Linked DNA regions of Homo sapiens: region 1 is linked to region 2. The links are contacts of gene promoters, found by promoter capture Hi-C in blood cells and fetal thymus (Javierre and others, 2016). All regions are on one chromosome and are shown on one strand. Each heading gives the region's core, a stretch centred on a gene start or on the middle of the fragment in contact. The rest is flanking DNA. Distances are from core to core; before and after follow the strand shown. Region 1 has its middle 12 kb from the start of GLYATL1. Region 2 holds the start of FAM111A (FAM111 trypsin like peptidase A).

Region 1 (5,415 bases), core at 1,939-4,438, 220 kb after region 2:
TTCGAAGGGCAGGAGAGGACTGTACAGAGAGGGTCCCCATGAGTCTTTAGATGAGTAGTGATCTGCACATGCATGTGAGGAAATTACCTAGGTCTGAGAAACCAGCTAACTAAAAAGAGTAGAAGGAACAATCCCTGGAGGTCTTACAGAGCTGGGAATATTGCTGTTCCTGTCAGACCTAGAAAAAAACATCATAATTTGGGGGGCATTGAGTACAATACCAAAAAGAAGTTTGGCTCAGCAATAGGGAAAAATTAGCTCTATAATATACGGGTGAAACATTACAAAAAAAGAAAACTGCAGGCCAATATAAAGATAAATGCAAGAACTAACAGGTAAATACCAGTTATGCAAGGTTGGTTTAACTTTTGAAAATTATATCACTGTAATAAGCCAATTAGAATAATTAAAATTTCTATATATACATAGAATCATCTCAATAGACATAGAAGAAGAGTTTGGTAAAGCTGATATCTATTTCTAATAAGAATATCAGCAACCTAGGAATAAAAGGGAACTTCTTAAATCTCATGAAGAACACTTATGAAAAACTTAGAGGTAACATCATACTTAATGGGATAGGACTGAATGCATTCCCAAGACTAGAAAAAAGTCAAGAATGTCTGCTCTGGCAGATTCTATTCACCATTGTGCTGGATTGTTGGGATTCACACAGGATGGTGGCAGAAGTATTAAAGGAAAATATTAGGGAAAGTTATAGGGAATAGTCACAAACCTTTTTGAAAGGTTGAAAGGTTATAAAGCTTGTAATAATTGAACAGGCTGAAGGCAGCCATTTCTTACCTTAGAGCATTAGGTCATAGGGTAAATACTAGGGACAACACAGGCTTCCCCAGTTAGATCTGTTTACCCTACCTCCATTAAGTAACCTTTGAGACAGATGGCCCTCTTGGGGGTAGTTTGACCAAGGATATTGCCCCCTAATGGTATTTACTTTAAACCAGGGTACCTGAGTTTTAATCATTCCTAGAACTACTCTCTTAACCATGTTAATTATCCACAAGTGTGTTTACTCAAATCTTCTGTTGTTAATTCTACACTAAATAAACTCCTAGAGTCTGAGCTACTCAGGGCAAGCTGCAGTGACAAACCTCTTTTGGTTTACAGGCGGTCAGACACTCAGCATGACTGGCAAAACAGATTATCTGTGTGTCAGTGTACATTTTATTCATCCGTCGTTTGGGTCAGGGTCTGCGGGCAGACACAGGTAGCTACTGCCCTGTTGTGAGAAGCAATACCTCAATTGGTGCCCCATGTGAGGAGAGCTGTGTGAGGACAGTCAGGGGTCTGCAGAAACAGACCTTCCGCAGTTGGAGCCCCTTGTAAGGCAAGCTATGAAGGAAGTGTAAGGACCGCTTTCATGAGGAAAGCTGCAAAGGAAGCCTGAGGAATGCGACGGGCCCCCAGGAAACAAAGGTGAAGAAAAACCGCGTGGTCAAGTCAGTGAGTAACTAGTAAGTCATTGGTGCCCACTCAAGGTTACCAAGTTCTGGGGAAAGTTGGTTCAAGCTGAGATTTCATCATGGGACAACAGTTATTAGCACAGCAGAAACATTATATAAAAGTATTACAACAGCTGCTTAAGGCTAGTGGAGCTTCAGTTTCACAGGCTCAATTAAGGCACCTAATCATGCATGCTAGACAAATTGCTGTAATGCAAACTGTTAAATCCCAAAGTCCATGGTTCCCAGAAGAAGGAACGCTAGACATAGAGCTCCGGGAAACAAGTGGGGAGAGATCTTAAAAACATCAGTTGCAAAGGCAGCAAGTCCCAGTAACAGCTTTAACGTTATGGGCTTTAACTAGAGCAGCCCTGGCTCAGTCACACACGGAAAAGCCTAAAAAGGGGCAGGAAGAGGAAACATTACCTGCCTTATCACCTCGTCTTCCCTGGGCCCTAATCACCAGGCGGAATTAACAGAGAGGAAAAGGAGGTCTTACCTGAGCTTCCTCCAATAGATAAGAAAAAAGGCAGAGGATACACTACAGTTATCAGTTCCCGTCTTAAGCAGGCTGAATTAAAAGAAGATCTCTTAGCCTGCCCAGTAACGCAAAATTGGCAAAGCGATCAGATACCTAAAGGGTTAAAAAAGGGCATTAGAAGCTAGAGCTGCATTGCCAAGCAAGCAGTGAGAAAAAACTAAAACTCCGCCCACATGGCAGCAGAGGCAACGAAGAGCTAAGCCACCATTGGAGCTAGCCTGCAGGGGAGGGGCGAGAGGCACATACAACAAAGTCAGCCCAAGGGGAGGCTGGGGTCCACCCTGGCCAGGAACAGCCAATGGGTGCCTGCGGGAGGGAGCCAGCACAGGCAAAAAGCAGCGCTTTTACAAGTGCAAAGCAGCCAAAGCCCCAGGACGCACCTGCCTGACTCTCTAGCTTTGCAGACAGCCCACAGCAAAATTTCCTGTGCTCCTTGTTTACAAGTGACATCCCAAATTATAATTCTCTGCTAAAATTTAAGTAAAATGTAAGAATTTGAAAAACCTCTTTTCAGATAATAGCCACTGCTGTTATCTCTCTCCTACCCCCGAGGTAGCTCTACAAATCCAGTTTAAGTAAAACAGTAGCCTCTGAAGGGAGAGAGATTAAGGAGGGCCCATGAATTAAAGAATAATTAAAAGTTAGGCATGTAAAACCACACATTACCCTTAGAGGAGAACTTTAAACCTAATTAAATGATATTTGTTCAATTAAAAGGTGAAAATATTGTGCCCTTCTCAAAAGGTGAAGAAGAGTTATATGTAAGTGTAGCCAAAACATGCATGAATGACTGTCTTAACCCACTGATTACAGATAGTCTTTGATTCATACTTGCTAAAAGAGTCCCAAATTAAGTTCCCCAGTTAGTGAGTCACTGTTTTCAAGACTGTTTTCCAGATTAAAGTCCATAAACTTGGTCAGCCTGAGAACTCCATTGCAACATTTAAGCTATTCTGCCTGTGGCTTTAAGCACATGGTTAAAATATATAATTTAAGTCTCTGCTTCTAAAGATGCTTTCAGATTTTCTTTTTAAACTTCACGTTATTTATTTCAGCTTGCCATCTTAATGATTAATGCAGTCAATTGCTAAGTTATGACTCGATATCATCAAAATTCCTTTAAGTAAAATGCAATTCAAAGCCGTATTGCAATCCCCCATACCAAATGCTTTAACACTGTTTACTGATGGGTCTGGTAAACATGGAAGAGCAGTAGTCTAATAGAGACCACATAATCCAATCACTGGATCTAGGTTTACTGGCACTCAAAGAGCTCAGGTTACTCTGTGTATTTGTTAAAGAACTTTTACAGCCTCAATTAAGTTTACTCTGGTGCACACTCTGTGTACTCTTTTTCTGACTTCGGCAATTGCTGGACCAACGTACACATCCTGTTTTTATTACACATATTCAAGCCCACAGCTCACTGCCTGGCCCATTGGCTTATGTCAATGAACGAGCAGACCTTCAGGTGATGACATCACTGCTAGGCCTAGCCACCCAATCGCATCAATTTTTCCACCAAAATTGGAGAAACTTATCTAAACAATTTCAACTTACTCAGAGGCTGGCTACAACAATTATCCTACAATGTCCAGATTGCCAGCTCACAGGCACGTCCCCTCCTTCAACAAGTGTTAACCCTAGAGGATTGGAACCTAAGCAGTTATGGCAAACATATTACACACATGCCTAAATTTGGAAAACTAAGATATGTGTGTGTATCCATTGATAATAACACTCATTTAATTAATGCACATGCTCTGCCTGTAGAGTCTACTCAAGATGTCATTAAACATCTTTTAACTTTTGCATTTATAGGATAGCCCACAAAGATTAAAGCTGATAATGGACCAGCTTATGCCAGCTGACAATTTCAACAATTTTATCACACGTGGAATATTCAACATTCCACAGGCATCCCATATAACTCCAAAGGTCAAGCAATAGTAAAAAATCAGAAAAAGGGGAATATAGGTAAAGACCCTGCAACACTACTGGCACAAACCTTGTTTACCCATAATTTTCTAAATTCAGATGACAAATTTCAATCAGCTGTAGAAAAACACTTTGCTAAAACCTCTCAAGGCATAAAACCAGCAGTTTTATGGAAAAATGTGAACAGTAATAAATGGTGTGGTCCAAATAAATTATTAACATGAGAAAGAATGTGTGCATATGTCCACCCCTAGAAAGAGAAATAAAGGGAAAGAATGATTTAAAAAGAAACTAGAAGAAACAGATCAGAAAGAGACACAAAAAGAAAGACTAAGGAAAGAAAGTGGGAAGAAGGAAAAGGAAATATTTAAAAAGTTATTAATATAAGAATGCACCCTTAGTAAGGAAGATTACAAAACAGAGTTAAAAAGTTAAGGCATGTCAAAAATTGTCTGTGAAAGTCGTGAAGAATGTTATAAAAGGGATTCATGCAGGAAATGTATAATTTTTGTTTTGAAAGTCTAAGCAAGTTGTAAAATGTTAATTGTAAAAAATTCTATATGTAAACATATTGGCTAAATTTAAAAAAGTATCCAGTTTTTTTCTGTAAACTAGACATTAAAATGAAGCACAAGTTTTTCTTGAAGTACTATCCTGCTCTTTAAAGATTATAAAGATCTCTTAGCACAGGTACCACCCCTAGAATTTCCAGTACACCAGCACCAGCCTGGAGACTGTATCCTCATCCAAGGATGGAAAGAAAAAAAACTCAAGCCAGCCTAGGAAAAACCCTAAGGACCCACAGCCTCAACAATGTGGCTTCCAGGAACAGCACAGGCCTCACACATTATGCTAAGGAAGCAGAAGGCTAAGCCAAATAATTTACTCATTTTTAATTCTCTCACTTTGCCTATTACCTATACCTGCTACACTCTATTAAGCTCATCTTCTGAATCTGCCTTTTGTCAGCCCTTTTACTTAAACAAATACTCCCTTTCCAGCTTCTAATGACATAACTGCTTGGCTGGAAGGAGTTAACATACCCTCAGTGGGGTTCCTTAGCAACAGTACTCACCAAACTAAGATGCCAGGTAACACTACCGGTCACTCTTAGACTGGAAACAAATGTTGCTAATTGTACTCATAATTGTCTTGTATTATTTGCTAATTCTAGGATGCAAAGCCGGAATAAGAGCAGTGACCACCTCACCTGACAATCCTATGGCTGTACATATCTGCAATCTGAAATCAAAAAGACATGATACCGAAAACAAAAACGGGGAAATGTTGGGATTCACTCAGAATGGTGCCAGAAATATTAAAGGGAAACATTAGGGAAAGCAACAGGGAATAGTTTACAAACCTTTTTGGAAGGCCAAAATGTTACATAGCTTGTAATAATTAAACAGGCTGAAGGCAGCTGGTTCTTACCTTAGAGCATTAGGTCATAGGGTAAATACTAGGGACAATAGA
Region 2 (5,644 bases), core at 218-2,717:
TACTTTCTCCACCTTTGAGATCAGGGAGAGCCTCAAGAAGGTTGAAGGGACTTCAGGGCACACACTGATTCTGAGTTGAGGGTTGGGAGGTTGATTAGGTCTTGCTGGAGCCTCCAAGAATGTCAAATGTTGGCTCCCAGTAATATCAAAGCAACCTGTTGATAAGACAAAGCTAAGTTTCTTGCTCACTTAGGTAATGGAGAACAATAACTTGACAGAATTTAAGTGGTGTCTCAGAGAGGGAAGAGCAAGTTTGGGCTATATGTATTGAGATTTTGAAGTCCCATTGTAAGTCTAATATTTAATGAGGGGAATTGGTTAGAATTGAGTCAGCTACGGGTAAAAGTTTAGGATTGGTAGATAAAACAAGGCTAGGATTTTGAGGTAAAGGTTCAAAGTCTTAGAATGTAAACTGTTCTTTGATGTTTTCCATTGAAGAGTGGTTGGATCTTTGAAGAAGATACTGGATTAAGCAATAAAGATATTTGCAACTTTCCGGTCCCTGGCAAAAGTTTCTTGAAATAGTAAATGTATGTTGATGAAAATAATGGAATAAGAAGTCAGGTTAATGTAGTTGGCAAGCTATGTGAGTGTAGATGGCTTCAGTTCTCACAATAGTGAACATACCTGATAATGTACTCAACATTTGTCACTTAGAGTATTTTATCCTGGAAAGAAGCGTAGTTGGGAAAACGCACTTGAGATGATGTTTGCTGCACACAGAATTCGGACACAGAGATGTGAATCTCCTTAGGAACCATTTTCATAAAGTTAACATTGGGTCTTAATAGACATCAGTTTTTAAAAATTAGAACAGGCTTGGGCACTGCAAAAGAAAGACACATCCGTTCACTTGGCTGTTCTTTTTAAGTTTCCAGGGAGAGCGTCAGTGCCCCTTTCAACAATAAAAGCCCGCAGGAGTGCAGATTTTATTTACCCTGTCCCCACCAGCATCCTGCTGCGGCCAATGAATCCTGGCAAAACTCCAGGTCAGCCCCAGAACCAAAGAGTAACTCACCTAAGAGGAAGGTCCGTTCCCACCAAGTCTCAGACGCCTGAACTCGTGATTTTTAGGGACTTTCCCTTCCAGTCCCTTGGAATCCAGCACTTTGGTTGGAGAACAGAACTCACTTGGGGAATGGCGCGTCTGGCCAATGGAATGAAAGATACTGGAGTTTGTCTTTTCTCTTCAGGCAGCAACTCACCTACTTCGGAAGCCGATTGGCTGCGCTGGGGACACCTGTTGGCGTGCAAAAAAGAGTGGTTGGAAAGGCAAGGCCGAGGGGGCGCGCCTACCCTACCCACCCACAGCGCTCCTCCTTGACGCCGCGAGCAGGACCCTGTCTCACTGACCCCGTGCCCACGGCGGTCCTTGCCTGCTTCTATTCTCCCGGTTTCCCCAGTCCCGAGTATTGGAAAGCGAGAGCGAAAGCGAAAGCATCCTAGTCGCCGGTAGGCTGGCCTGGGCCGGGCTGGAGAGGGAGCAGGAAATAAAAACTCGGGTGTGGGAGGAGCTGGGACGCTGGCGGCAGAGCCACTGTGGCAGCTTGAGTCTCGCGCGCGCAGGAAGCGGAGGTGGAAGTTGGGGCGCAGGAATGTGGCTGTCCCCGCCTGTAAATCATGGTTGGGGAGGAGTCGCGGAGGCACCAGGCTGGGGTCTGCAGCGCGCCATCTGCTGCAGCACACAGGAGGCGCTGAGGCTAGTTGGGTAAGTGGGGAGATTTCAGGCACTTCCGAGGGGGCGGCATCCCCAGCAGGTGGGATAGGCCCGGTGACTAGGACAAAATCACGAAGAAGCCGCGGATGCAGGAAGAGTAAACTCCCTTGTCATAAATCGATTCTCCAAACGTTCATCAATATGTGGAGACGTTTATGATAGTGATGAAGAAGATGATATGGGCTCTAGGAATATGCATCTCAAAGCTGATGATCGAAGAAGATTGGAGAGGGTTTTCAAGGCAGCCTGCTGTTTAAGGACCTGCATTCTGAGTAGATGTGTATTGGAAAAGGCGATTACAGTCACAAAGGGGACAACTTTTATGCAATTGACAGAGGACTATATGATGTATATAAACAGATAGGGTTGAAAGGTGTGTTGGTAACTACAAAACACATGGGAATTTGAAGGAAGGAACTGGCCTTAAATGCATGTACAATACACCAAGAGAAGCTAAAATTACTGCTTCATCTTCTGTGGGTTCTTTGGGGTTTGGATAGAGTAACCTTAAAACATATTTGAATGCTGACTTTTTCTATGAGACTCACTTTTGGAATCTGTGCATTCCTACATTCACAAAGGGTAATCACAGCTAGTACCCAGCATCCAAACAATAGCAGCCAATAATTCTAATCTGGAGAAAATTTTCTTTTCTCTCTCTTTCTCTCTCTCTCTCTCTTTCTTTCTTTCTCTTTCTTTCTTTCTTTCTCTTTCTTTTTTTCTTTTTCTTTCCTTCTTTCTTTCTCTTTTTTCTTTTCTTCTTCATTCCTTCCTTCCTTTCTTCCTTTCTTTTTTCTCTTTATTTCTTCTCTTTCTTTCTTTCTTCTTTCTTTTTTCTTTTATCTTTCTTTCTTTCTCACTTTTCTCCTTCCCTCCCTCCCTCCTTTCTTCCTTCTTTCTCTTTTGCCTGTTTTACATTTTAATGTGTAAGCAAATAGTGATTAAAGGACAATAGGCTTAACATTTTCTAAAACATGGGTGTTCAGAATTGAATATACTGATAAAATTTGTTTCCAAAAGGAAGGATTATATACTAGGTGGGAGTGTAAATTAGTTCAACCATTGTGGAAAACAGTGTGGCAATTCCTCAAAGACTTAAAAACAGAACTACCATTCAACCCAGCAATCCCATGACTGGGTATGTACCCAAAGGAATATAAATCATTCTTTCATAAAGACACACGAACACGTATGTTCCTTGCAGCGCTGTTCACAATAGCAAAGAATCAACCTAAATGCCTATCAGTGGTAGGCTGGATAAAGAAAACTCAGTATACCATTGAATACTACACAGCCATAAAAAATAATGAGATCATGTCCTGTACAGGGACATGGATGGAGCTAGAGGCCATTATTCTTGGCAAACTAATGCAGGAACAGAAATCAAATACTGCATATTATCACTTATACGTGGGAGCTAAATGATGAGAACACATGGACACGCAGAGGGGAACAACAGACGCTGGGGCCTATCGGAGGGTGGTGGATGGAAGAAGGGAGAGGATCGGGAAAAACAACTAATGGGTACTAGGCTTAATACCTTGGTGGTGAAATAATCTGTACATCAAACCCCCATGACATGAGTTTATCTATATAGCAGACCTGCACATGTACCACTAAACTTAAATAAAGCTTTTAAAAAAGTTTTCAATCTACGAAGTTGAGATTTACTAGAAAGGTTATTCAAATGACTTTGACATATTGAAATATTAGTGCACAAGGAGATAATAAAAAGTTATTATTATAGAAGATATAAAACTTGTACCACCTAATATCTGTGCAACTAAATCTACTATGTACCAAGATATTTATCAATATTCTTTCTGAAATTTTTATGTCGTTTTGTATAATTTTAATCATATTTCTTTTAAAAACATTTATGGCATGATAAGTTATGTGTTGGCTTATTGCGGAAAGGGCCTAAAATAACAATTCTTAAACTTTATATATATTTGCAATGAAATATATTTTGGCTTTAGACAATAGGAACATAACCTTTTTTTGGATGAAAGATTACTGTCACATTTTTTCTTCATTATCTGACATCTTTGTCATTTTCTTAACTTATATTACTAATTAAAGTTCCCTACCTTTTCAAAAGAAAAAAAGTCTAATATTGACATTTATTTATCTGTAGCAAACTTTAGCTATTGTTTTTTCTACTAATTTCAGGCAAAAATGAAGTATTAATTTCAGTTACAAAATATAGCTTAGTAAGATCTAAACCAAATAAAATTCACATTCTAAAGACTACAAACAAGTTTTAAAAAGATATTTTGGCCATTAAACTTATTTATTAAATTTAACTTTTGTCTTCTAAGAACCAGAGTTCTTACAATTACTATGAAGCTCCTATTCTATAATCATAGCCTGGGTTCCTTGTCAATGCTTCATTAAACAGGCTATTTTTTTCTTTTTTCTTTTTTCTTTTTTTTTAGAGACAGAGTCTCACTGTGTCACCCAGGCTGGAGTGAAGTGGCATGATCTTGGCTTACTGAAACCTCCATCTCCCAGGTTCAAGCGATTCTCATGCCTCAGCCACTTGAGTAGCTGGGACTACAGGATTTCGCCATGTTCCCCAGGCTGGTCTCAAACTCCTGAACTCAGGCAGCCCGCCTACCTTGGCCTCCCAAAGTGCTAGGATTACAGGTATGAACCACCGCGCCCGGCCAGTTTCTTAATTCTTAGACTAAATCTACGGGGGACACACTTTTGCCAACATTAGCTGCAAAGGGTTTTTTCCTCCACACTTAAGTCACGGTCAGTAAGTAGTTTTTTTTTTTTTCCTGTGTTTTTGTTTCCTTGTTTGTTTTTATTTGGGAAAATGCCTCTTTTGATAGTAATGAATTATTTTTTACACGCAAGGTCAAAAACAGCATGGAGTGAATTTTCTTCCACACGTATACACCCTTTTTTATTCCTGCCTCTGGCTGTAAATAGTTGCACAGTTAAAAGCAGGATGGACTTAACGGAGTATCATTTATATTTATAATTGCTGTATTTGTAATTCTGCTACAGAAATGAATTCTGTTATTATAATCAAAGGTTACACTGTTATCTGAATTCTTGAAAAATATGTAAAAATACTGCTCTTGTGGCTTTTCATAGGTTTATAGTCTATAAACACTAATTTTAATCAATAATTCATATCATTTATGATTAATTTTATGAGAAACAGATAACAATAATAGACATAGGCATAATTATTTTGTGACAGCTGGTGTGTTTGGAGTATTTACTATCACCCTTAAATATGATACCCTGGCTGGAAAACATTAATTTGATAACATACCTTTAAGAAATTATATAAAATATGCAAAAGCATAACCTTATGCACATTTTTAAAACAAGGCCTTCTTGTAGGAAAAAGATTACACCATGCATGAAGATGTTTTGTTTTCTATCATTATTTGAATTTATTTTAAAGGCCATTACTGCTCTGTGTGTGTATATATATATATATACATAAATATACATATATATACACACACGTATGAAACCAAAAATTCCAGGTTCATCATATTATACACAGATTTTCTTTTTTGTTGCCCTTATTCTTAATCATTGAAAGCACTGAAAATCAATACCTGTTTGATAAGATGTGCAATCAAGTTAAAAATATCACAGTTATTATATATAAAACTTTCTTAAGATTACTTTTGTAGTAACCTTTAAAAGGGGTGGTGGTGGTGTGGGATCCCTTGGCAAAGTCCAACTTGGCTGCTTAACTGCTTTCATTGGCCTGGCTAACACTTATGTCTGCCCACGGAAGCAGCAGGGAGTGTGTAGAGGGAAATGACCTCTGCTGCTGTACTGCTTTGAGTTCCTCTCTGAGCTTGGCATTTACATGTGTCTGTTTCATTTAATACTCTCAATAACCCTGTGGGGAAGGTGAGATTATCTTCGCCATTTCACAAAAAGCTTTAG

Evidence for each region. Contacts are between HindIII fragments. The CHiCAGO score rates a contact against its expected background, and 5 or more counts as called.
Region 1: a contact is called between a fragment that was not itself captured here and the fragment with the promoter of FAM111A in region 2, in 1 of 17 cell types (fetal thymus). The highest score is 7.6, in fetal thymus.

What each region holds. Positions count from the first base shown.
Region 1 is chr11:58,924,377-58,929,791 of GRCh38, reverse strand. It overlaps a transcript of GLYATL1 not described here. Among named protein-coding and RNA genes, the nearest start is that of GLYATL1, 12 kb to the left of the region's middle. RefSeq lists an enhancer at 1,911-2,425. The HindIII fragment of the contact is 4,843 bases long and covers 767-5,415 here.
Region 2 is chr11:59,138,679-59,144,322 of GRCh38, reverse strand. It overlaps FAM111A (FAM111 trypsin like peptidase A), which reads right to left and starts at 1,467. Exons shown (of 6, transcript NM_001312909.2): 1 at 1,377-1,467; 2 at 1,019-1,240; 3 at 628-826. It overlaps FAM111A-DT (FAM111A divergent transcript), which reads left to right and starts at 1,515. Exons shown (of 4, transcript NR_110184.1): 1 at 1,515-1,708; 2 at 4,156-4,366. It also overlaps the pseudogene LOC100422399. RefSeq lists an enhancer at 1,250-1,699. The HindIII fragment of the contact is 3,476 bases long and covers 1-3,351 here.